Regions from separate parts of the Homo sapiens genome. Here all the other regions are linked to region 1. Evidence: promoter capture Hi-C in 16 types of primary human blood cells and fetal thymus (Javierre and others, 2016). All regions are on one chromosome and are shown on one strand. The core of a region is centred on a gene start or on the middle of the fragment in contact, and the rest is flanking DNA. Distances in the headings are between cores, read along the strand shown. Region 1 holds the start of JHY (junctional cadherin complex regulator). Region 2 has its middle 22 kb from the start of UBASH3B. Region 3 overlaps CLMP (CXADR like cell adhesion molecule). Region 4 holds the start of SNORD14D (small nucleolar RNA, C/D box 14D). Region 5 has its middle 16 kb from the start of SNORD14E.

Region 1 (4,923 bases), core at 1,493-3,992:
GATTCCTATTTCTAGCTTCCAAGGGCTTGTTACAGACAAGCCTGGACTAAGACAAATGGTTAATTATGGACAGTACTTTGATAGCCTTATTTCAAATGCCCAAATAACTATGGGCAATATAAATATGGTCCGTAGTTATTCATGGATAGAGTAAAACAGGTTCAGGGGCTATGTTTTGGAAAGTAAAGTAAGAAGAAAGAAGAGTGTAGTTTTCCATAGTTGGAACTGTAAATGGGGAAGCTGTTTTGTTCCTAGACCTATATGGGCTGGCAACATCATTTGGAAAAGACTTTCTGATAGCCAGGTTGTGACTAGATAGGAACATATAATTTAGGTGGACATAAATGGAGATCAACCTCATCCGGTATTTTTTAAAACCCATAATAACGATTAAAACTGTTCAACAATCACGCCTGTAATACCAGCACTTTGGGAGGCCAAGGTGGGCAGATCGCTTAAGTCCAGGAGTTCAAGACCACCCCGGGCAACATGGCAAAACCCCATCTCTACAAAAAAAAAAAAAAAATACAAAAAATTAGTGGGCATGGTGGGATGGGCCTGTAGTCCCAGCTACTCGGGAGACTGCGGTGGGAGGAGGGTCACTCGAGCCGGGCAGGCAGAGGCTGCAGTGAGCTGGAGTGCCACTGCACTCCAGCCTGGGTAACAGAACGTGACCCTATCAGAAAAAATAAATAAAACTGTTCAACAAAAGATTTAGTGGTCTTGTGAATTCTGCCACTGAGCGATCCAAAGCAGAGCCTGGAGGTCTACATTACCGAACGGGATGCTATCCTGGGGAAAGTTGAGTGGGTGGGAGATTGGCCTGAATTACAGCTAAGAGTTAGCTGGAGTCCCTTCCAACTCACTTACGAGTGTGATTCAAGTGAACCTGCACTGTCTGTAAGGGTCATTATAAAGAGCCATGGAAAGGGTGCTTTGAGTTCATGTAGGACCGAACGGACATGATGTTTTTGGATTGTGCTTCCTTTCATCTCTACCTAGCATTTCTATTTTGGTCTATTTTCTATCTCACTGCCTTTATACCCATTTTTTTTTTTTCTGTGAGTCAGGTAACAGAAACCTTTACCATTAGAAATTGCTGTAAAATTTGTCTTAATGGCTTGCTCTTGTTCTTTTGGCAAATCCTAACTTTAATTAAATGACACAACCTTATTACTATTCCTAGGATTGCTTATAATGTTGACCTTGTTGCTAATGTTTGCAAGGAGCATCATCAAATCCTTGGAGGAAAGCACCTTAACAAACAACAGGCAAAAGGGAACGTTCATATGTAAATACACACGAAGTGAGTTTTCTATTGAACTCGAAGTCTGCCCTGTTGGTAGACTAACATATTATTCTCTAATATTACAGACTGGTTTGTTGTATTATTTTGTCTCTTATTTTTAAAATACATATTGCATTCTGCCTTATTATTTTAATTGTTGCTTTTTTAGGATGTGCCAAGAAAGCAGCAAATCTATCAAATACTAACACATTTTAAGTAAAAGAGATTGTTTAACACCGGTTTTACTGGAGGAGCTAAGGTCACTGAATTTGAGATCCTGAAGAGCAAGCTTAAGCGTTATAGTGCAACTTAGAATTACTCTTAAAATAATTCAGTCCCTTGAACTTCTCTTCTTAAATGAAATAGGCTAAGCTTTCTTGGAATGAATAAAAAATAAAACAGTAACCACAGAAGATAATTTTGCTGATGTTAGCAGATTCCTGAAGTTTGCTAAAGTATGCAAAGAGCAAAGCCAAACGCCACAAAAGCTGGGTTTTCTGTGGAGGCCTGATCTTACCAAAACATGGGGTGGAAGAAGGAACAGCTGACAGCTTGAATAAGTTAGAAAGTGGGCGTTTAAATTTCATGAATGTGGCTCCCTCCTCCCGTCCAGTGAAAAAAAAAAAAGGTTGTGCCGCTGAAATTTCTGACCAAGAGAGGTGACTAGTCTCCTGAATAAACAAGACAGCGATAGATCCGATGGCACCTAGGGACTAAGAAGCGGCCAGCTCCCCAGGGATCCCTGCAGTGGGTCTAGTCCACTAGCATGGGACAATCGAACTTTCTCCTGGAGGGGAAAAGGAACCCTGCTTGGGCTCACCAAGATGAATCGTAAAGAAAAAGGAACGAACCCTGGTTTGAAACAGGCCGGAAGCTGCCCAGGGGAGGCGTTCGGTTTTCTACCTTTGCTTGTTCCTGAGGAACAAGGCCTGTCACAAGGGGCGTTTGGAGGTCCAGGAAGTGACAAGTCGGCGGGCCTGGTGCCCGGGACCGGTCCTAATTGACCGGGAACAGGGCTGCTCTGGGTGCCCGGGCGCCGAAGCCTCGCATGGCGGCCCCCCAGCCCCTTGTCGCGGCCTCGCCCCCTTGTCGCTCCCCACTCCGTCCCGAAGGCTCCCGCGCCGGCTCCTCCCCAGCTTGCTTGGGTGGTTTCCTGCCGTCCCCATCCCCAGTAAGCCCTTCCCGTTTCCCTCCCCGGGCGCGCCGCCCACCCCAGATCCGGGAGGCCACCGCCCGTCACCTGCCCGGCGCTCCTCCGCGGCCGCGACCCGGACGGGCCCCGCATCCTCCCGCGCCGCCGCCGCCGCCGCCCGGGCCCCCGCCCGCCCCGGCGCTGCCCTGGAGACCGCAGACAACACAGACGCCGGCGCCACATGGGCGGGGCAGGACCCGACCTAGGATCCCGCGTCCCGAACCGCACCCCCGGCCCTGGCACGGAGGCTGCAAACGGCCGTAATAACGACATCGGGGCAGAGCCGGAGGAGCCCGAACGCCCCGGGAGAGGCTGCCTCGCCGCCCGGACTTCCCAGCGCCGGAGGGCAGAGGCCACCCGGGGGAGGAGATCTTTGCCACAAATAAAACTACTAAAATACGCGAGGAACTGCTACAAATCAAGAAGAAAAGGAACCCAATTAAATAATGGGTAAATGGAAAGGTATTTCACAAACACACGAGAAATCTAAATGGCCAATAAATATCTGTTTATTGAAATGATGCTTTAATTCATTAATAATCAGAAGAAGGCCAATTAAAACCACAGCGGATAATACCACACTCACCATAAGTTGAGTCGAAAAGTCCAAAGTTGAAACGTCTGGCAGCGTCAGGTGCTAGGGAGGACGTAGTGCAAAGAACCGTCACCTTCTGCGGGCGGACGTGAGAACCGATGCAACCAACCATTTTGGAAAATGGTTTGACATTAGCCAGGATATGTATGCCTTGGGATCCAGCAATTTCACTTTTAGGTATTTACCCTAAGAAGTGCGTGCTCCTGTGCATGCAAACTGGAAATAACTGAACTATCCATCAAAAGAATGGTTAATTAGATTATGCTATTGCCTATACTGGCATACTACATAGCACTGTAAATGAATGAAATACAACTATGTGTAACAATATGGAGGCATACTAAAAACACAATTTTGAACAACAACAAAAACCCAGAAAAAGTACATACTGTATGATTTTTGTATATAAAAAACAGGCTAAATTACACTCTACAGTGATTGTGGCTCCATACTTAGTGGAGGAAACTATGAAAAAAAGCAAAAAAGCAATTTTATGGGAAACACTACCCACTTAGTGATTCCCATCAAGTTAGGATTGTGGTCGGTTCTGGCAGGTAGGGAGAAGAATGTTTTTGAGACTGTATTTCCTGACCTTAATGATGGTTATATAGATGTTCATCTTGTAAAAATTCATTAAGCTGTACATTTATGTATGGGTAGAATATTTCACTATCAAAAAAGGTTTCAAAAAAGAATAAAGAAAGGAAGCATTAGGAATTATCTTCACATTAAAACAACAAGTAGATTTGAATAACTACCTTCAAAGATTGGTTTGAGGCCAGGTGCAGTGGCTCACCCTGTAATCCCAGCATTTTGGGAAACCGAGCTGGAGGATTGCTTGAGCCCAAGAGTTCAAGACCAGCCTGGGGAAAATGGCAAAACCTTGTCTCTACGAAAATTTTTAACAATTAGTTGAGCGTAGTGGCGCGTGCCTATAGTCCGAGCTACTTGGAAGGCTGAGGTGGGAGGATCACCTGAGCCCAGGAGGTTGAGGCTGAAGTCAGCCAATATTGTGCCACTGCACTCCAGCCTGGGTGAGAGTGAGACCTTGTCAAAAAAAAAAAAAAAAAAAAAAGAGAATTCTTCGGCCAGGCACAGTGGCTCATGCCTGTAATCCCAGCACTTTCGGAGGCCTAGGCGAGTGGATCACCTGAGGTCAGGAGTTCAAGACCAGCCTGGCCAACATGGCAAAACCCCGTCTCTACTAAAAATACAAAAATCAGCTGGGCGTGGTGGTGCACGCCTGTAGTCCCAGCTACATGGGAGGCTGAGGCAGGAGAACTGCTTGAACCGGGGAGGCAGAGGTTGCAGTGAGCTGAGATGTGCCACTGCAATCCAGCCTGGGTGACAGAGCGAGACTCCATCTCAAAAAAATAAAATAAAATAAAAAAAGAATGCTTCAATACCAGTTGCCTCATTAATGATAGGAAACACAGGAAATTGGAAAATGTCTTTACTACCCAGCTTTAGCACTTTTTATTCTGTTTTTTATTTGAGTTAGTTTTTTTTTTTTTTTTTTTTTTTTTACTTTTTTGGCAGCAGGGACCTTGTCTTATGAGTACACAGTAGGACCTCAATGTCTGTAGAAGAAATAAAAGCAACGTAGCTGAAACCATTAGTGTTATTCTGCCCAGTATATTATACAAGGTATTATTATAGCAACTGCAAACATGCAAGCAAATTTCAAGCAAAAGGATTTAGTCCTAATAGTGGCTTCCAGAATATGTTATAGAATCAATGCTGAGTCATTCACACTTGTCTACTTTTGATGCTGTGGTTCTTTAGACTCTTCCAGTGTTTTCTGCACTATCCAGAAGAGATTTTAACTGGCTTTTCTGAAAATTAGTG
Region 2 (4,923 bases), core at 618-3,117, 250 kb after region 1:
ACACTGAAGGGCTACAGAATGTTTCCCCCTTTATTTATCTATTTAACAGAGGTGGGATCTCTCTATTTTGCCCAGGCTGGTCTCAAGGGATCCTGTGCCCTCAACCTCCCAAAGTGTTGGGATTATGTGTGTGAGCCACTTCACCCAGGCTTTTTTTTTTCACTTTAAAATGGTATCCATTTCTGAAGGAAAACATCAGCACGTTTTTGGGGATATAGAAGGACTGACTTTTGATGTTGAGAAATTGTTTGAATAGGATGTTGGCAGTACAGTTAAAAATGAAAAATTAGGTAAAAGAGATATTTTGGAAGTAAATCCACCCTTTCTAGAAGATTGAGACAACTTAGATATGGGACATTAAGGAGAAATGTTTGAGTCTACAGGACTAAGAAAATGGTAATGCCATTCTCAGAAACTGGTTATTCAAGAAGAGAAGCTTATTTAGGACAGGAAGAGAGGAGTTTGCTAAATTTATTTCGGATATGTTGAAGAAAGTGTCATGGCAGCAAACTGGAAATATGGAAGTGGGACTTGACAGATGTAAACGCTTCTCTTTCGAACCAAAGACACACCATATACCCTACTCCACCCTGGACCGGGGGCCTCTGTGCTCAGCACACTATAGATAGGGCTGAGTATAAAAACCACACACAGGGCTGGGCACGGTGGCTCACACCTGTAATCCCAGCACTTTGGGAAGCCAAGGTGAGTGGATCACTTGAGGTTGGGAGTTCGAGACCAGCCTGGCCAACATGGTGAAACCCTGTCTCTACTAAAAATACAAAAATTAGCCGGGTGTGGTGGTGCGTGCCTGTAATCCCAGCTACTAGGGAGGCTGAGGCAGGAGAATCGCTTGAACCTGGGAGGTGGAGGTTGCAGTGAGCTGAGATCGCGCCGCTGCACTCCAGCCTGGGCAACAGAGGGAGACTCTGTCTCAAAAAACAAAAAACAATACAACAACAACAACAACAACAACAACAAACCACACACAGGGCCCAAACCAAGGCTGGCTCCGTGGGACCAGAGATACTCTCAGTCAGCCTGAACCAAGCCCTAAACTGGAAGGCACCAGGAGCGGTAGGAACAGTAGCCGGCACCGCGTGTGGGGTGGGGCAAAGGGCCTGGAGCTCGCCTTACCCTGCATCCAGGAAGTTGCTGGCCTGACTTCCAGCCACCACCAGCTGTGTGAGTTGTCACTAAAAGGCAATTGTAACTGCCTCCTCTTTTTGGTTCAGATTACAAATGGTAACTAACCAACCCCCAAAAAGAAAAAAAATGTTCCGGTTTGGAAATCTGAGACCATCTGTTTCTCATTCTATTTCCCCTCTCTTTTCTGGATTTTTTATATTTGATCCTCTCCCTCTCTCACTCGCTCCCACTCCTGAAAACACACAGTTCAGCCAGGAGCATAGTGACCTTATTTGACTATCTTTTCTTTAATGAGAATGCTGGATTTGTTATTGGGATTAAATTTGAAAATTCCTTGTTTCCATTCAAAATAGATGCCTTGGATTGTTTACTTAAAAATGTTTTTTCATAAAAATTGTTTCTGTATTTAATCTAGATAATAAATAAATCTAAATGAAATAAAATAAAAATAAACAAAGTCACATATGATGAAGCCACATGTAGTTTTGTTGAAATCCATGCAAAATTCCATCTTAAAGTCTTTTTTTTTTTTTTTGAGACAAAGTCTCACTCTGTCACCCAGGCTGGAGTTCAGTGGCACGATCTCGGCTCACTGCAACCTCCACCTCCCAGGTTCAAACGATTCTCCTGCCTCAGCCTCCTGAGTAGCTGGGATTACAGGTGCCCACCACCATGCCAGGCTAATTATTTAATTTTTAGTAGAGATGGGGTTTCTCCATGTTGGCCAGGCTGGTCTCGAACCGCTGGCCTCAAGTGATCTGCCCCCCTCAGCCTCCCAAAGTGCTGGGATTACAGGCAAGGGCCACCTCGCCCAGCCTCTTAATGTCTTATTAACAGACTCATTTAAATTTAATGAAATGGCTGGATGTGGTGTCTCGCGCCTGTAATCCCAGCACTTTGGGTGGCTGAGGTGGGAGAATCACTTGAGGCTAGTAGTTCCAGGTTAGCTTGGGGAATATAGCAAGACCCCGATTCTACAGACAACTTAAAAAATTAGCCAGGCTTGGTGACACACCTGTAGTCCCAGCTACTCAGGAGGCTGAGGTGGGAGGATTGCACGAGTCCAGGATGTTGAGGTTGCAGTGAGCTGTGATCACGTCCCTGTATTCCAGCCTGGGTGATACAGCAAGTCCCTGTCTCTAAAAAAAATAAAAATAAAAATAAATTTTTAAAATTAATCAGAGGATCAGTTACGGATTAAAATGCAATATTGAACTCTCTGTATTGGAAGCAGCAACAGTGTTGCGAGGACTGCTTCTCTCCTGGGATTCAGGCATGGGCCGGCTGGCTTTAGAAACTCTCTATTTCCCTATAGTCTGGTGTTACAGGTCCCTCTTGTGTTGGTTGTTAACATTGTCTTGCTTCTGTTCTAGAACCATGAGAACCTGATTCTGTAATTGAGTTAATCAGCATATTGCAATCAATATTCTCCTCATCACCATCATCATCACCATCAATAGCTAGGTGTACATACAGAAGACAATGGGAAATCAGTGTAGGGTCGTTTAAAACCACGTGCTTTGTAGCCAGATGGATCTGAGTTCGAACTGTTATTTCTCAGCGATATTACCTGGGGCAAGTTAATTACACTTTTGTGTATTAGTTTCTGCATTGATTAAGTAGAGGTGATAATAATACTCATTTTCAAGAGAAAATAGGATAATGTATATAAAGTGTCCGATGTAGAGTCTTAAAAAATGTACTTCCTTTCCTATTCACTTCTTTTTCTAAGGAAGACAGAATTCTTTTTTATTTTTATTTATTTTATTTTATTTTAGAGATGGAGTCTTGCTCCATCGCCCAGGCTGGAGTGTAGTGACAAGATCTCAGCTCATTGCAACCTCTACCTCCCATGTTCAAGCGATTCTCCTGCCTCAGCCTCTCGAGTAGCTGGGACTACAGGCACCTGACACCATGCCTGACTAATTTTTGTATTTTTAGTAGAGACGAGGTTTTGCCATGTTGGCCAGGCTGGTCTCAAATTCCTGACCTCAGGTGATCTGCTCGCCTCGGCATCCCAAAGTGCTGGGATTACAGGCGTGAGCCACTGCGTCTGGCCCAGAAATTCTTGAAAAGTGAGTAAAGATGTAATCCAGGCAAATTGGATGTGCTGTGAACTTATCAAAGGATTGAGTAATTGTTAAGCTTCCTACATAATGACAAAGCAAAATTTTAAAAAATGACAAATTAGTCAAAGTATCATTTTAACCCATCATTATGCCCAGTAGAGGACCCCTTTGCTTATATCCTGTTTCCCTGTCTTCCTTCCTTTACTGTCCCCGCTCCGGAAGGCTTTGAAGGTCTTGGCTTTTCTTCTTGCGGTTGAAGTCTGGCAAGTGCCTGCTTGCTGCTTCTGTCCTACGACCCTGCTTGTAGCAAGTCCTCAGGTCAAGATATAAACACATTTTATTGCAATTAGTAGGGCAAGTTGTGTGTACAAAGTATTTGCTAAGGCACTACTGATTATACGTAATCATGCTTCTGCTCAACATAAAGGATTTCTCCTTCCTCTGAATTCATATGGGACGTGCAGTGCAAAAATTCATTGAACCCTTAGCATACACCATCTTGTTGTTTATACTACTTGTTCTAATATATACCTTTCCAGGATTCTTGGGGCTGTCTCAATTCCTCTTTGAATTTTTACCAACAAGCCTAGGCTTGACCACAAAGTCAGCTTTGGTAAATATTTATTGTATTAAGTTGAATTGTGTATCTTGTTTGCCTGAGGATACTGGAAATATTTCAAAGAAAGAAATTTGGTTCTCTACTTCTTTGTACCCCCTTTTTCCTCTTTTTAACCCACCATGATGCTCTCGAGAGGATCAGTACATCTTTGATAATATTCACAGTAAGTAATAGAACAAAGCCGACTAGAATTTTAATTTGCAAGCATCCAGCCCAGGACTGAACTTGCTGACAACAACCCTGCCAAAGGTCATTCCCCATTTGCCAGAGCAACTGTAGTTCTGGGGAATGCAACACTTATCAAGGCAGCTATTTCAGACAGAAATCTTATTTTTTTTTTTTTTTTTGTGACTAGAGACAGGGTTTCAGTATGTTGCCCAGGCTGGTCTCAAACTCCTGGCCTCAAGTGATCCTCCTGCCTTGGCCTCCCAAAGTGCTGGGATTACAGGCACGAGCCACTGTGCCTGGCCCAGAAATCTTTGTATGGGGTTACAGTTTTTGTCCCTTTAGATCTAAAACCTATGCATTGGAGGAATTGAAAACTCTTTTAAACCTGCTTTCTACACGACAGCCCAGCACATATTCAAGCTCTTTGTAGATTCAAGATAGCTCTTGAACCAGACATGGTGACATGTGCCTATGTTCCCAGCTACTTGGGAGGCTGAGCCAAGGGGATTGCTTGAGCACAGGAGTTTGAGGCTGGAGTGAGCTATGATCATGCTTGTGAATAGCCACTGCACTATAGGCTGGGTAACACTGCGAGACTCCATATCAAAAAAAAAAAAAAAAAAAAGAAGGAAAACTTTTGAATCTGAATCTGATTTTTCTATGATAAAAACTTCAGTTCACTCATGATATAATTTTTTTTTTTTTTTTTGAGACAGAGTTTCTCTCTTTTTGCCCAGGCTGGAGTGCAACGGTGCGGTCTTGGCTCACTGCAACCTCTGCCTCCCAGGTTCAAACAATTCTCCTGCCTCAGCCTCTCAAGTAGCTGGGATTACAGGCATGTGCTGCCACTCCTGGCTAATTTTTTGTATTTAGTAGAGACGGGGTTTCGCCATGTTGGTCAGGCTGGTCTCGAACTCC
Region 3 (4,923 bases), core at 1,157-3,656, 220 kb before region 1:
CTCTAGGAACAAATATCCTCCTTGGAGGGGTGGGAGGAGATAACTAGGCACTGTATTGACTCCCAGATGTCTGAAATTCCACTGATAACTTGCAAGCTTCATTCCTTTGGCTTTAGGCTTTAAACTGTTTAAGTACCAAATATATGTTTGTATTTAAAAAGACAGTAAAATGTCAGGGATTTAGCAGCTCATAGTAAATATGGTCTTCTTCTTCTGAAGACTCTCATAAAAGGAGTGGACTGGAGAGGTTCTGGGGTTGGGCTGGGTGTGGGATTGGGAAAGCAAATGGCAGAGGAACTTCACTAGTTCGTGACAAGGGAGGCTAGGGGGAGCTGATCGGAGAGGACAGGTGGTGCCATTAGCTTCCAGGTGCTCCCTCCGTCTAGAATTCTTTTCCCTCCCTCTGTGTGGTAAAAACATGCCTGTCTCTCCAGAACTACCTCCATCCTTACTCACTGCAGTCTTCCTTAATTGCTCGTCAGGAATGACCTTCTCTACAATATTATCAATTTTCTTAGGTGTGCTAAGATGGCTGTTGTTGTGAGGAATAACATGCTTATTTTTAGGAGATGTGCACTGCAACATTTAGACTTAGTGTCATGCCATCCACAACTTGATTTCAACTGGTACAACAAAAAAAAAATAGGAGAGAGCACACAAAAGCGAGCAAATATAGCCAAATGCTAACAGTGATGAAGCAAAATGACTTCCAAACTTTTCACAATCCTGGTTTGTCCATGTGGTATGTTTTCTGGTTTTCCCTGTCTTTCAAAATGCAACACGGTGGTGGCCCATGCCTGTGATCCCAGCACTTTCAGAGGCCGAGGCGGGAGGACTGCTTGAGCTCAGGAGCCTGAGGCCAGCCTGGGCAACATAGTGAAACCCTGTTTCTGAAAAAAAAAAAAAAAAAAATTTAGGTCAGGTGCGGTGGCTCGCACCTGTAATCCCAGCACTTTGGGAGGCTGAAGTGGGAGGATCACCTGAGGTCAGGACTTTGAGACCAGCCTGGCCAACACGGTGAAAGCCCATCTCTACTAAAAATACGAAAATTTGCCAGATGTGGTGGCATGCGCCTATAATCCCAGCTATTCACAAGGCTGAGGCAGGAGAATCGCTTGAACCCAGGAGGCCGAGGTTTCGGTGAGCTGAGATCACGCCACTGCACTCCAGCCTGGGTGACAGAGTGAGACTCCGTCTAAATTAAAAAAAAAAAATTTCATTAGCCAGGCATGGTGGTGAAAGCCTATAGTCCCAGCTACTTGGGAGGCTGAGGTGGGAGGATCACTTGAGCCCAGGGAGTTCAGGCTGCAGTGAGTTATGATTGTGCCACTGCACTCCAGCCTGGCAGAAAGAGCATCTGAGACCCTGTCTCAAAAAAAAAAAATGCAGCAAGTACAATTATTATTATTATTATTTTTTTTTTTTTTTGAGACGGAGTCTCGCTCTGTCGCCCAGGCTGGAGTGCAGTGGCTCAATCCGGCTCACTGCAAGCTCCGCCTCCCGGGTTCACACCATTCTCCTGCCTCAGCCTCCCGAGTAGCTGGGACTACAGGCGCCCACCACCTCGCCGGGCTAATTTTTTGTATTTTTAGTAGAGACGGGGTTTCACTGTGTTAGCCAGGATGGTCTCGATCTCCTGACCTCGTGATCCGCCCACCTCGACCTCCCAACGTGCTGGGATTACAGGCGTGAGCCACTGCACCCAGCCACAAGTACAATTATTAATAGTAGTTGCCATTTGCTGAGTGTGTGCTACATACCATGCGCCAGTGCTAGACACTTTCATGCATCATATGTAATGCTTACAATAACTTCCAAAGTTGATGTTTTTATTTTCCTTTTACGGAAAAGTAAACAACTTGGAGCAATCAGGGAATTAATTGGTCTTACAGCCACTACTCAAGTCCAGACCTCTCAGACTCCAAAGCTCATCCTCTTTCTATTGCATCATGCTGTGTCTTGAACTGCATACAGTGTTCCATAAACAATCTGGAAGGCAGGCACGTGCGCGCGCGCGCGCGCACACACACACACACACACACACACACACACACACACACACACCTCCTACAGAATTATATATGTAGCTGGGGTGAAGGGAAAACTTCCCGTCTGCCCGCTGAAGGTTCATTGAAAAGCACTGACAAGAGGCAGATTAATAGGAGAAAAGGCATACAAATTTAATAAACTGTTCAAGAGTGTCCAATCTTTTTGCTTCCCTGAGCCACACTGGAAGAAGAAGAATTATCTTGGGCCACACATAAAATACACTAACAACAGCTGATGAGCTAAAAAAAAAAATAGAATAAAATCACAATAAAATCTCATAATAGCAGGGCATGGTGGCTCACAGCTGTAATTCCAGCACTTCAGAAGTCTGAGGTGGGTGGATCACTGAGGTCAGGAGTTCGAGACCAGCCTGGCCAACATGGTGAAACCCCGTCTCTACTAAAAATACAAAAATTAGCCAGGCGTGGTGGCGTGGGCCTGTAATCCCAGCTACTCGGGAGGCTGAGGCACAAGAATCGCTGGAACCCGGGAGGCGGAGGTTGCAGTGAGCTGAGATTGCGCTACTGTACTCCAGCCTGGGTGACAGAGCAAGATTGTCTCAAAAAAAAAAAAACAAAAAACAAACAAACAAAAACCACAGTTCCTCCTGCCCATCTCTTTGAAGGGGGTCTTAAGGTTCAGGAGAATCTATGAGAAAATGTAAATACGGCTTGGCACAGTGGCTCACACCTATAATCCCAGCACTTTGGGAGTCCAAGATAGGCAGATCACCTGAGGTCAGGAGTTTGAGACAAACCTGACAAACGTGGCAAAACCCTGTCTCTACTAAAAATACAAAATTAACCAGGTGTGGTGGCGCATGCCTGTAATCCCAGCTATTCACGTGGCTGAGGCAGGAGAATCGCTTGAACCCAGGAGGCGGAGGTTGTGGTGAGCCAAGATTGTGCCACTGCACTCCAGCCTGGGCGACAGAGCAAGACTCCATCTCAAAAAAAAAGAAAGAAAGAAAAGAAGAAAGAAAGAGAGAGAGAGGAAGGAAGGAAGGAAGGAAGGGAGGGAGGGAGGGAGGGAGGGAGGGAGGGAAGGGAAGGAAATAAATGTAAATACCTTTTAGAGGATAAAACTTTAAACTACTCTTAATTGAGTGTAGGCAGCAGTCATGTGAGAAAAAGTCCCTTCTAGCAGAGATGAGCAGGGGAAGAGAACTAACATTTTAATGGGAGACTCCTATGTGCTTTCACAATGCTAGCTGCTTTCCTCAGTGTCTTCTTTAATTCCCATTTTGCGGATGGAAACACTAAGGCTCAGAAGGTAATTTTCTCAAGCTCCCAGAGGTCCTTTGATAAGTGCCTGAGGTGCATGCAAAAGCTCCCACTTAGGGAGAGCTTGCGGCTTCCCTGAAGGCATTCTGCCTGTGCCTAAGGAGGCAGTCCTTACCACTGCCACCACTCAGCACCTCTTCCCATAGGTAAATGCTGCAACAGAATCCTAGCAGAGACTATTCCCTTACTTGCAATTCTGCCACTAATTAGTTTTGTGACGTGACATCTCAATTCTCTGGGGTGCAATCTCCTCATAAGTTAAACTGATGATCTCTAAAGTCTTTCCTAACAAAGATGAATCTTCCAGTGCCCACGCAATCCAAGGCTAGCCACAGGATGGTCAGACTGCCCCTTTCCTCTCACCCATCAGATGGCAGACAAGCTCAGCAGCCCCCATGAGCACTGCTAAGCCTTGGAGTTAAAGACAGAGGCCGGACGCGGTGGCTCACACCTGTAATCCCAGCACTTTGGGAGGCTGAGGCGGGTGGATCATAAGGGGTCAGGAATTCGAGACGAGCCTGGCCAACATGGTGAAACCCCGTCTCTACTAAAGATACAAAAAATTAGCTGAGCATGGTGGCGCCTGCCTGTAATCCCAGCTACTTGAAAGGCTGAGGCAGGAGAATCGTTTGAACCTGGGAGGCGGAGGTTACAGCGAGCTGAGATGACGCCATTGCATTCCAGCCTGAGCAACAGGGCGAGACTCCGTCTGGGGAAAAAAAAAATAGAACCCAGGACCGGGCGCGGTGGCTCATGCCTGTAATCCTAGACTTTGGGAGGCTGAGGCGGGCAGATCACTTGAGGCCAGGAGTTTGAGACCAGCCTGGTCAACATGGAGAAACCCCATCTCTACTAAAAAAAATAGCTCGGTGGGTGGTGCAACCCTGTAATCCCAGTTACTCATGAACCCGAGATCACAGCACTGCACTCCAGCCTGGGCTACAGAGGGAGAATCTGGATTAAAAAAAAAAAAAAAAAAAAAAAAAGCCAGGCATGGTGGCTCAGGCCTGTAATCCCAGCACTTTGGGAGGCCGAGGCGGGCTGATCACCTGAGGTCAGGAGTTTGAAACCAGCTTGGCCAACGCAGTGAAATCCCGTCTCTACTAAAAATACAAAAATTAGCCAGGCATGGTGGTGCATGCCTGTAATCCCCGCTACTCAGGAGGCTGAGGCACAACAATCACTTTAACCTGGGAGGCAGAGGTTGCAGTGAGCCGAGATTGCGCGACTGCACTCTAGCCTGGGCAACAGAGTGACACTCTGTCTCAAAAAAAAAAAAAAAGAGACAGAACCCAGGCCCCTCTCTGCTTAGGTGGGTTTAAAAAAGAAAAGAAAAAAAAGTACAGAAGACCCTTTGAGCAATGTAAAAAAATGTAAAAGCTTTAATGTAAAAAAAAAGAAAGAAAGAAAGAAAAAAAAAGGGACAGAAGGAGAAGGACCTTAGAAATCTGTAGAAATCTCAGTGGCCTCCTGGAGTCTAACGAACTGAAGTTCAAGGAAGACTAGAAGTGTATGCGCCCTGATCTCATGGCTCCCTGCCTTGATGAAGCCATTTGTATTCACAGAGGGGCTCCTCCCTGCACTGCTGTAT
Region 4 (2,872 bases), core at 291-2,790, 180 kb before region 1:
CAAGTCTGTTATAAAACAGGTTGTAGAAACCTTTCAGGCTGAAATCTGGATAACGTAGGAGGTTGAAGTTTGAACCTTTGCTACCTATATGGTAGTTGAATTCACCTACCTATGAACTGTTAGGTATTTGAGTAATCATGGACTTGAGTTTTATCAGAAGAGCTATGAAATTGAAAGTGTTTTCATTTGACACCTTTTACAGATGCCAAACGTCTGATTGGACGCAGATTTGATGATGCTGTTGTCCAGTCTGATATGAAACATTGGCCCTTTATGGTGGTGAATGATGCTGGCAGGCCCAAGGTCCAAGTAGAATACAAGGGAGAGACCAAAAGCTTCTATCCAGAGGAGGTGTCTTCTATGGTTCTGACAAAGATGAAGGAAATTGCAGAAGCCTACCTTGGGAAGGTGAGGTTGGTTTTTCAGTATGGGGTGCATTCCGGAGTAGTTAAAAGCCCGATGACTCCCGGGGGCACTGGCACCTGGCGAGGGAGGGGAACAGATGGGGCTCAGCTCAGGGTTAAGACCACGTGCCCAACAGTGCCCTAGGCTCTCTAGGTAGATGGGTCTGTCAACACCAGAAACCAGTGAATCTTGACAATTACACAGTAATTTACATTTTGGTGGGGGGGGTGCTCCAGCTGTTCTTTCACCAGCATTAATCCATTTGCTGGAGTTTGCATATATGTAAGTATAATAGTTACCAATCTGTGGTCTTTTCCTTATTCCTAGACTGTTACCAATGCTGTGGTCACAGTGCCAGCTTACTTTAATGACTCTCAGCGTCAGGCTACCAAAGATGCTGGAACTATTGCTGGTCTCAATGTACTTAGAATTATTAATGAGCCAACTGCTGCTGCTATTGCTTACGGCTTAGACAAAAAGGTATGTACCATTTGTGATGCAAGTTCGGATTATTTTAAGATTAATTTGATCCATCGTAAATTTAAATGAGATTGTTTTTAACGGCAGGTTGGAGCAGAAAGAAACGTGCTCATCTTTGACCTGGGAGGTGGCACTTTTGATGTGTCAATCCTCACTATTGAGGATGGAATCTTTGAGGTCAAGTCTACAGCTGGAGACACCCACTTGGGTGGAGAAGATTTTGACAACCGAATGGTCAACCATTTTATTGCTGAGTTTAAGCGCAAGCATAAGAAGGACATCAGTGAGAACAAGAGAGCTGTAAGACGCCTCCGTACTGCTTGTGAACGTGCTAAGCGTACCCTCTCTTCCAGCACCCAGGCCAGTATTGAGATCGATTCTCTCTATGAAGGAATCGACTTCTATACCTCCATTACCCGTGCCCGATTTGAAGAACTGAATGCTGACCTGTTCCGTGGCACCCTGGACCCAGTAGAGAAAGCCCTTCGAGATGCCAAACTAGACAAGTCACAGATTCATGATATTGTCCTGGTTGGTGGTTCTACTCGTATCCCCAAGATTCAGAAGCTTCTCCAAGACTTCTTCAATGGAAAAGAACTGAATAAGAGCATCAACCCTGATGAAGCTGTTGCTTATGGTGCAGGTAACAATGGTATCTCAATTAACCCTAAAGGCAGGCAGGCCCAAGGTGACTCGCTGTGATGAGTGATTGTTAAACATTCGTAGTTTCCACCAAAAGCTTGGCTAATGATGGCAACACCTTCCTTGGATGTCTGAGCGAGTGATAGTTAAAACAGGAGCTATGTACTGGGTTTTCTTTTAACTTCTTTTAACGTTAACTTTTTGTTTGCTAGCTGTCCAGGCAGCCATCTTGTCTGGAGACAAGTCTGAGAATGTTCAAGATTTGCTGCTCTTGGATGTCACTCCTCTTTCCCTTGGTATTGAAACTGCTGGTGGAGTCATGACTGTCCTCATCAAGCGTAATACCACCATTCCTACCAAGCAGACACAGACCTTCACTACCTATTCTGACAACCAGCCTGGTGTGCTTATTCAGGTATGTTTCTGTACTTCTCTTGTTTGGCTTACTGATAACAGATAAAGGGAAGTCTTGACTGACTCGCTATGATGATGGATTCCAAAACCATTCGTAGTTTCCACCAGAAAGTCTTATGTTGGCCAGTTCCTTCCTTGGATGTTTGAGCGACCATTCTTCCTTAGCAGGACCCTAGCACTGTCACAGACCTGGAGTCCATTGTAGTAATTTGTTTTATTTCCTACCAAGGTTTATGAAGGCGAGCGTGCCATGACAAAGGATAACAACCTGCTTGGCAAGTTTGAACTCACAGGCATACCTCCTGCACCCCGAGGTGTTCCTCAGATTGAAGTCACTTTTGACATTGATGCCAATGGTATACTCAATGTCTCTGCTGTGGACAAGAGTACGGGAAAAGAGAACAAGATTACTATCACTAATGACAAGGGTAAGGAGGCACTGTCATCTGGTCTTGACAGGGATAATGGTATTTCAATTGAGTTACTGGTGCCTAAGGGCGTCTAGCTAAGAGAAACTAGAGTTACACATACACAGGTAATTTAAGGCTTTTACTTAGAGTTAATTTCTTTCCTAGGCCGTTTGAGCAAGGAAGACATTGAACGTATGGTCCAGGAAGCTGAGAAGTACAAAGCTGAAGATGAGAAGCAGAGGGACAAGGTGTCATCCAAGAATTCACTTGAGTCCTATGCCTTCAACATGAAAGCAACTGTTGAAGATGAGAAACTTCAAGGCAAGATTAACGATGAGGACAAACAGAAGATTCTGGACAAGTGTAATGAAATTATCAACTGGCTTGATAAGAATCAGGTTTGTGTTTTTTTTTTTTTTTTTTCCTCCCCCACTCAATGGAGGGGAAGGGGATGGTAAACCAAGCTTGAGCTGGATTTCAGTGTAGGGTCACAATGATGAATGGTCCAAAACATTCGCGGT
Region 5 (4,923 bases), core at 1,811-4,310, 160 kb before region 1:
AACTCAATTTCCACAAAAATAACCGATTTGACTTATTCTTAGGATTTTAATGACTCTATTCGATCAAATTGAGTTTACCTCTTAACAAAATTGAGTCTGAATCCACAAAAATGGCATATCTCTCCTTTTATTTAGGCCTTTTAAAATTTCTGTCAGCAGTGTTTTGTAGTTTAAAATGAAGAAATCATATCTTTATTTATTTTATTTTATTTTATTTTATTTTATTTTATTTTTTTGAGACACGGTCTCACTCTGTCACCCAGGCTGGAGTGCGGTTGTGTGATCTCAGCTCACTGCAACCTCTACCTCCTAGGCTCCAAGTGATCTTCCCACCTCAGCCTTCTGAATAGCTGGGACTATAGGTGTGTACCACCACACCTGGCTGAATTTTTTTTTTTTTTTTTTTGGTATTTTTTTGTAGAGACAGGTATGTTGCCCAGGCTGGTCTTGAACTCCTGAGCTCAAGCAATCCACCTGCCTCGGCCTCCCAAATTGCTGGGATTACAGGCGTGAGCCACTGTGCCCGACCCTCTTTTCTTTTTTTTAGAGACAAGAGCTCACTCTGTCATCCAGGCAGAAGGACGGTGGTGTCATTGATCATAGCTCACTGTAGCCTCAAATTCCTAGACTCAAGCAATCTTCTTGCCTCAGCCTCCCAAGTAGTTGGGACTACAGGTGTGTGCCACTACACTTGGCTAAGTTTTTAATTAATGTTTTTTGTAGAGACATGGTCTCACTATGTTGTCTAGGCTGGTCACCTCAAACTTCTGGCCTTAAGCAATCCTCCCACCTTGGCCTCCAAAAGTGTTGGGGTTATAGATGTGAGCCATCGTGCCTGGCCATCATATTATATTTATTCACCATATAAGTTAAAAAGCTCTCTAGGGTCTACACAGCACCTGACACATAGTGAATACTCAATACATATTTAAAGAAAGACAGTATATAATTACTGTTAGTAGTATTAATAAAAAATAGCAGCAGCAACTAATTTATAGACAACTTAAAAAAATTTTTAAGAGTAAAAAAATTTAACTGTGGTAGAACACACATAACATATAATTTACCATCTTAATCATTGGTAAGTGTACAGTTCAGTAGTGTTAAGTATATTTACATCATTGTGCAACTCATCTCCAGAACTTTTTCATCTTGCAGAATGAACCCATTCAACAGATTATCAGTTTCCCCACCCCCAAGTCCCTGGCAATTACTGTGATACTTTTTGTTTCTATGAATTTGACTATTTTAAATACCTTATATAATATACAGAACCTTTTTATGAAAAACTGACTTTATATTTTGTGGTTTTTTTTTTTTTTTTTTTTTGAGACAGAATCTTGCTCTGTCACCCAGGCTAGAGTGCAATGGCATGATCTTAGCTCACTGCAACCTCTTCCTCCCGGGTTCAAGTGATTCTCCTGCCTCAGCCTCCCAAGTAGCTGGGACTACAGGTGCGCACCATCATGCCCAGCTAATTTTTGTATTTTTAGTAGAGACAGGATTTCACCATGTTGGCCAGGCTGATCTCGAACTCCTGACATCAGGTAATCCACCTGCCTCGGCCTCCCGAAGTGTTGGGATTACAGGTGTGAGCCACCACGCCTGGCTTGATTTTACATTTCTAATCTTATTTGATTGCAACAATAATGTCACAAGGAGGCAAGGACAGAACCTCTTAGACAGAAACCTGGAATATTTACATTTTTTTAGGCTCTTAGGATATTAAGAAATGTCAAACCAAGATTATAAAAATTGTGATATATTTAAAACTTTATATTTAATGAGTGAATGCTTTTATTTTATTTACTTATTTATTTTTCTTTCTTTTTTTCTCACATTTCTCTGAAGAGTGAATGCTTTTTAAAATGCAATGCTGGGCTGGGCGTGGTGGCTCACACCTGTAATCCCAGCACTTTGGGAGGCCGAGGCGGGCAGATCACGAGGTCAGGCGATCGAGACCATCCTGGCTAACACGGTAAAACCCTGTCTCTACTAAAAATACAAAAAATTAGCCGGGCGTGGTGGTGGGCGCCTGTGGTCCCAGCTACTCGAGAGGCTGAGGCAGGACAGTGGCGTGAACCGGGGGGAGGCCAAGATCTGGCCACTGCACTCCAGTCTGGGTGACAGAGCGAGACTCCATCTCAAAAAAAAAAAAATGCAATGCTGGCCAGGTATGGTGGTCCATGCCTGTAATCTCAGCAATTTAGGAGGAAGAGGCAGGAGGATCACTTGAAGTCAGGAGTTTGAGACCAGCCTGGGCAGAAAACCAGATCCCATCTCTACAAAAAAATTTTTAAAAAGTAAACAAAAACGCAATGCTGGCCAAGTATGGTGTCTCCTGCCTGTAATCCCAGCATTTTGAGAGGCCCAGGCAGGAGGATCACTTGAGCCCAGGAGTTCAACATAGTGGGAGCCCATCTCTACAAAAAGTTTAAAAAATTAGCCAAATGTGGTGGCATGTGCCTGTAGTCCCAGCTACTCGGGAGGCTGAGGTGAAAGGATGGCTTGAGCCCAGGAGGTCAAGGCCACAGTGAGCTGTGATTGTACCACTGCACTCCAGCCTGGATGACAGAGTGAGACGCTGTCTTAAAACAAACAAACAAACTACCTAAAAAATGCAATGCTAAATACTCGTCCTAGACAAAAATGTATTTTAAAAATCCCATTAGTGTGTGCTGCAGAAGGGGTGGCCCAAAAATGACTCATACATTTCCAACGAGGAACATCTCCTATTTTTTTTTTTAATTGAGATGGGGTTTTGACATGTGGCTTAGGTTGGTCTGGAACTCTTGGGCCCAAGCAAGCCACTGGTCTCAGCCTCCCAAAGTGCTTGGATTATAGGCATGAGCCACTGCTCCTGGGTGATCATTTCCTTTTAGTCTTATCAGTATTTCTCTTTGGCTGAGTGTGTGTGTGTGTGTGTGTGCGTGTGTGTGTGTGTGTGCGTGTGTGTGTGTGTGTGTGTGTGTGAGAGAGACAGTCTCACCTTATCGCCCAGGCTAGAGTGCAATGGCACAATCTCGGCTCACTGCAAGTCCACCTCCCGGGTTCAAGCGATTCGTGTGCCTCAGCCTCCTGAGTAACTGGGATTACAAGCGCGTGCCACCACACCCGGCTAATTTTTTGTATTTTTAGTAGAGACAATTTCACCATGTTTGGCCAGGCTGATCTTGAACTTCTGACCAGCCTCCCAAACATGGGAGGATTTTGGGAACTTTGACCTCCCAAAGTACTGGGATTACAGGTGTGAGCCACCGTGCTTGGCCTGAATGTGTATTTATTTTAAGATAATGTCAAAATCTAAACTTAAGGCCCCAAATTAATGTGAGGTTCAGGTGAAATGACCAGTTCTCTCTTTCCACCAGCACTTGCCATTGTGAAAAGCCATGGTGCAAATGTCATTCCCATTTTTACAAACGAAGAAGGCGTCTCAGCAAAGGTATTGTTTCTGCCTGAAGGCTGCAGAGCAAATGTGGTAGTGGAACTTGATCGGGAGGCGGAGGTTGCAGTGAGCCGAGATCGCACCATTGCACTCCAGGCTGGGCGACAGAGTGAGACTCCTTCTCAAAAATAAATAAATATAAAAATAATAAATAAATAAATAATAGACAACTTAAAATTTATAAATAAATAAATAAAAGACTGGAACTTGGGTTTTGGCTGTAAGCCTAAACACTCGAGACACCAAGCCTAACTGAGGGGGCTATTCATTTTGGACAGTGAGTGCCGAATATACCTCTGGGATCTGCCAAGGAAAGTGGGCTGCCACGGAGGTAGTGAGATACCAGGCTCCAGGAGCCACCAACAAGAGGTCTGACTAAAATGATTTGGGCTTGCTGCAGAGGATATTCAAGAATGGGGTGTCAGGGTGCGAGGAGGAGGGAGCTGCGTTAGATTACTTCCAGCTTCCTTTCAGACACCCCCCAGCATAGGGGCCAAGCCCAAACCGACAGCACAGCTCCACTCTCCGGGGGAGGCGGGCTGGGCTGTGCATTCATTTCCCCACCTTTTCATTCGTGGCAGCCTGCCACCGGTTGTTGGGCATCCATAGCTTAATTTGAACAAGTGGGCTCTGGTTTCCTGAGGCGAACTGTCCGGGCGCCTCAGCCATCCATCAGTATTCTCTTCAGTCCCCTGGCAGCTGCTCACTCCGGGCTGGCTCAACCTGCACTGACCTCATCTTCCCACACAGAGCAGAGGAGGATTTGGAAAAAATTAGTTATATTAGTGACTCCCCGAAACACTCCGTTTACTTGTGATATGACAAATATTTCAGCCATTAGGATCTCTCCGTCTCTTATCATCTTAAATGCACTCACTTACATTCCAAATCACTACTTAATTTAAAAGCCTATTTGTTGAGATTGTGACAGGCCCAGGGAAAAGGAGAGACAGACACTCACTCAGCTCTGGCTGGAATAGAATCAGATTTGGAACTTTGATTGAATCTTTCTCCCCAGGACTTATGCTCAGTCAGGTATCATCTAAACACTTAGGGCACGAGAGACTTCCAGGGCACCCACACTGTGGAGATTTATAAGGTCTGCTTCGAAGTAGCCATGTGGCATGGTGACCTTGGGCAAATGACTTCATTCCTGGGTGTCCTTATGCTTTCTGACCCCCGGATACGGTGACGCATTTGGTGAATTTCTTTTTTTTTTCTTTTTCTTTTTTTTTTTTTTTTGAGACAGAGTCTCGCTCTGTCGCCCAGGCTGGAATGCAGTGGCATGATCTCCCCTCACTGCAACCTCTGCCTCCAAGGTTCAAGTGATTCTCCTGCCCCAACCTCCTGTGTAGCTGGGATTACAGGCGCATGCCACTATGCCCAGCTAATTTTTTTTTTCTTTGTATTTTTAGTAGAGACAGGGTTTCACCATGTTGGCCAGGCTGGTCTCAAACTCCTGACCTCAAGTGATCCAT

What was found. Contacts are between HindIII fragments. The CHiCAGO score rates a contact against its expected background, and 5 or more counts as called.
Region 2: a fragment that was not itself captured here is called in contact with the fragment with the promoter of JHY in region 1 in 2 of 17 cell types (total CD8 T cells and M2 macrophages); the score reaches 6.3 in total CD8 T cells.
Region 3: a contact is called between a fragment that was not itself captured here and the fragment with the promoter of JHY in region 1, in 3 of 17 cell types (naive CD8 T cells, total CD8 T cells and naive CD4 T cells). The highest score is 6.7, in naive CD8 T cells.
Region 4: a contact is called between a fragment that was not itself captured here and the fragment with the promoter of JHY in region 1, in 8 of 17 cell types (total CD8 T cells, naive B cells, M2 macrophages and 5 more). The highest score is 8.5, in total CD8 T cells.
Region 5: a contact is called between a fragment that was not itself captured here and the fragment with the promoter of JHY in region 1, in 2 of 17 cell types (megakaryocytes and naive CD8 T cells). The highest score is 5.8, in megakaryocytes.

What each region holds. Positions count from the first base shown.
Region 1 is chr11:122,880,578-122,885,500 of GRCh38, reverse strand. JHY (junctional cadherin complex regulator) reads right to left here and starts at 2,742. Exons shown (of 9, transcript NM_024806.4): 1 at 2,529-2,742. RefSeq lists a silencer at 2,264-2,623. The HindIII fragment of the contact is 12,251 bases long and covers 1,663-4,923 here.
Region 2 is chr11:122,630,963-122,635,885 of GRCh38, reverse strand. No RefSeq gene overlaps it. Among named protein-coding and RNA genes, the nearest start is that of UBASH3B, 22 kb to the left of the region's middle. The HindIII fragment of the contact is 2,858 bases long and covers 439-3,296 here.
Region 3 is chr11:123,103,524-123,108,446 of GRCh38, reverse strand. The region is part of intron 1 of CLMP (CXADR like cell adhesion molecule); the gene reads left to right. Among named protein-coding and RNA genes, the nearest start is that of HSPA8, 44 kb to the right of the region's middle. The HindIII fragment of the contact is 4,616 bases long and covers 99-4,714 here.
Region 4 is chr11:123,058,129-123,061,000 of GRCh38, reverse strand. It overlaps HSPA8 (heat shock protein family A (Hsp70) member 8), which reads left to right. Exons shown (of 9, transcript NM_006597.6): 3 at 203-408; 4 at 733-885; 5 at 973-1,528; 6 at 1,740-1,942; 7 at 2,171-2,369; 8 at 2,517-2,749. It overlaps SNORD14D (small nucleolar RNA, C/D box 14D), which reads left to right and starts at 2,006; the gene lies at 2,006-2,092. It overlaps SNORD14C (small nucleolar RNA, C/D box 14C), which reads left to right and starts at 1,579; the gene lies at 1,579-1,666. SNORD14E (small nucleolar RNA, C/D box 14E) reads left to right here and starts at 2,845; the gene lies at 2,845-2,872. The HindIII fragment of the contact is 172 bases long and covers 1,455-1,626 here.
Region 5 is chr11:123,039,384-123,044,306 of GRCh38, reverse strand. No RefSeq gene overlaps it. Among named protein-coding and RNA genes, the nearest start is that of SNORD14E, 16 kb to the left of the region's middle. The HindIII fragment of the contact is 6,954 bases long and covers 1-4,923 here.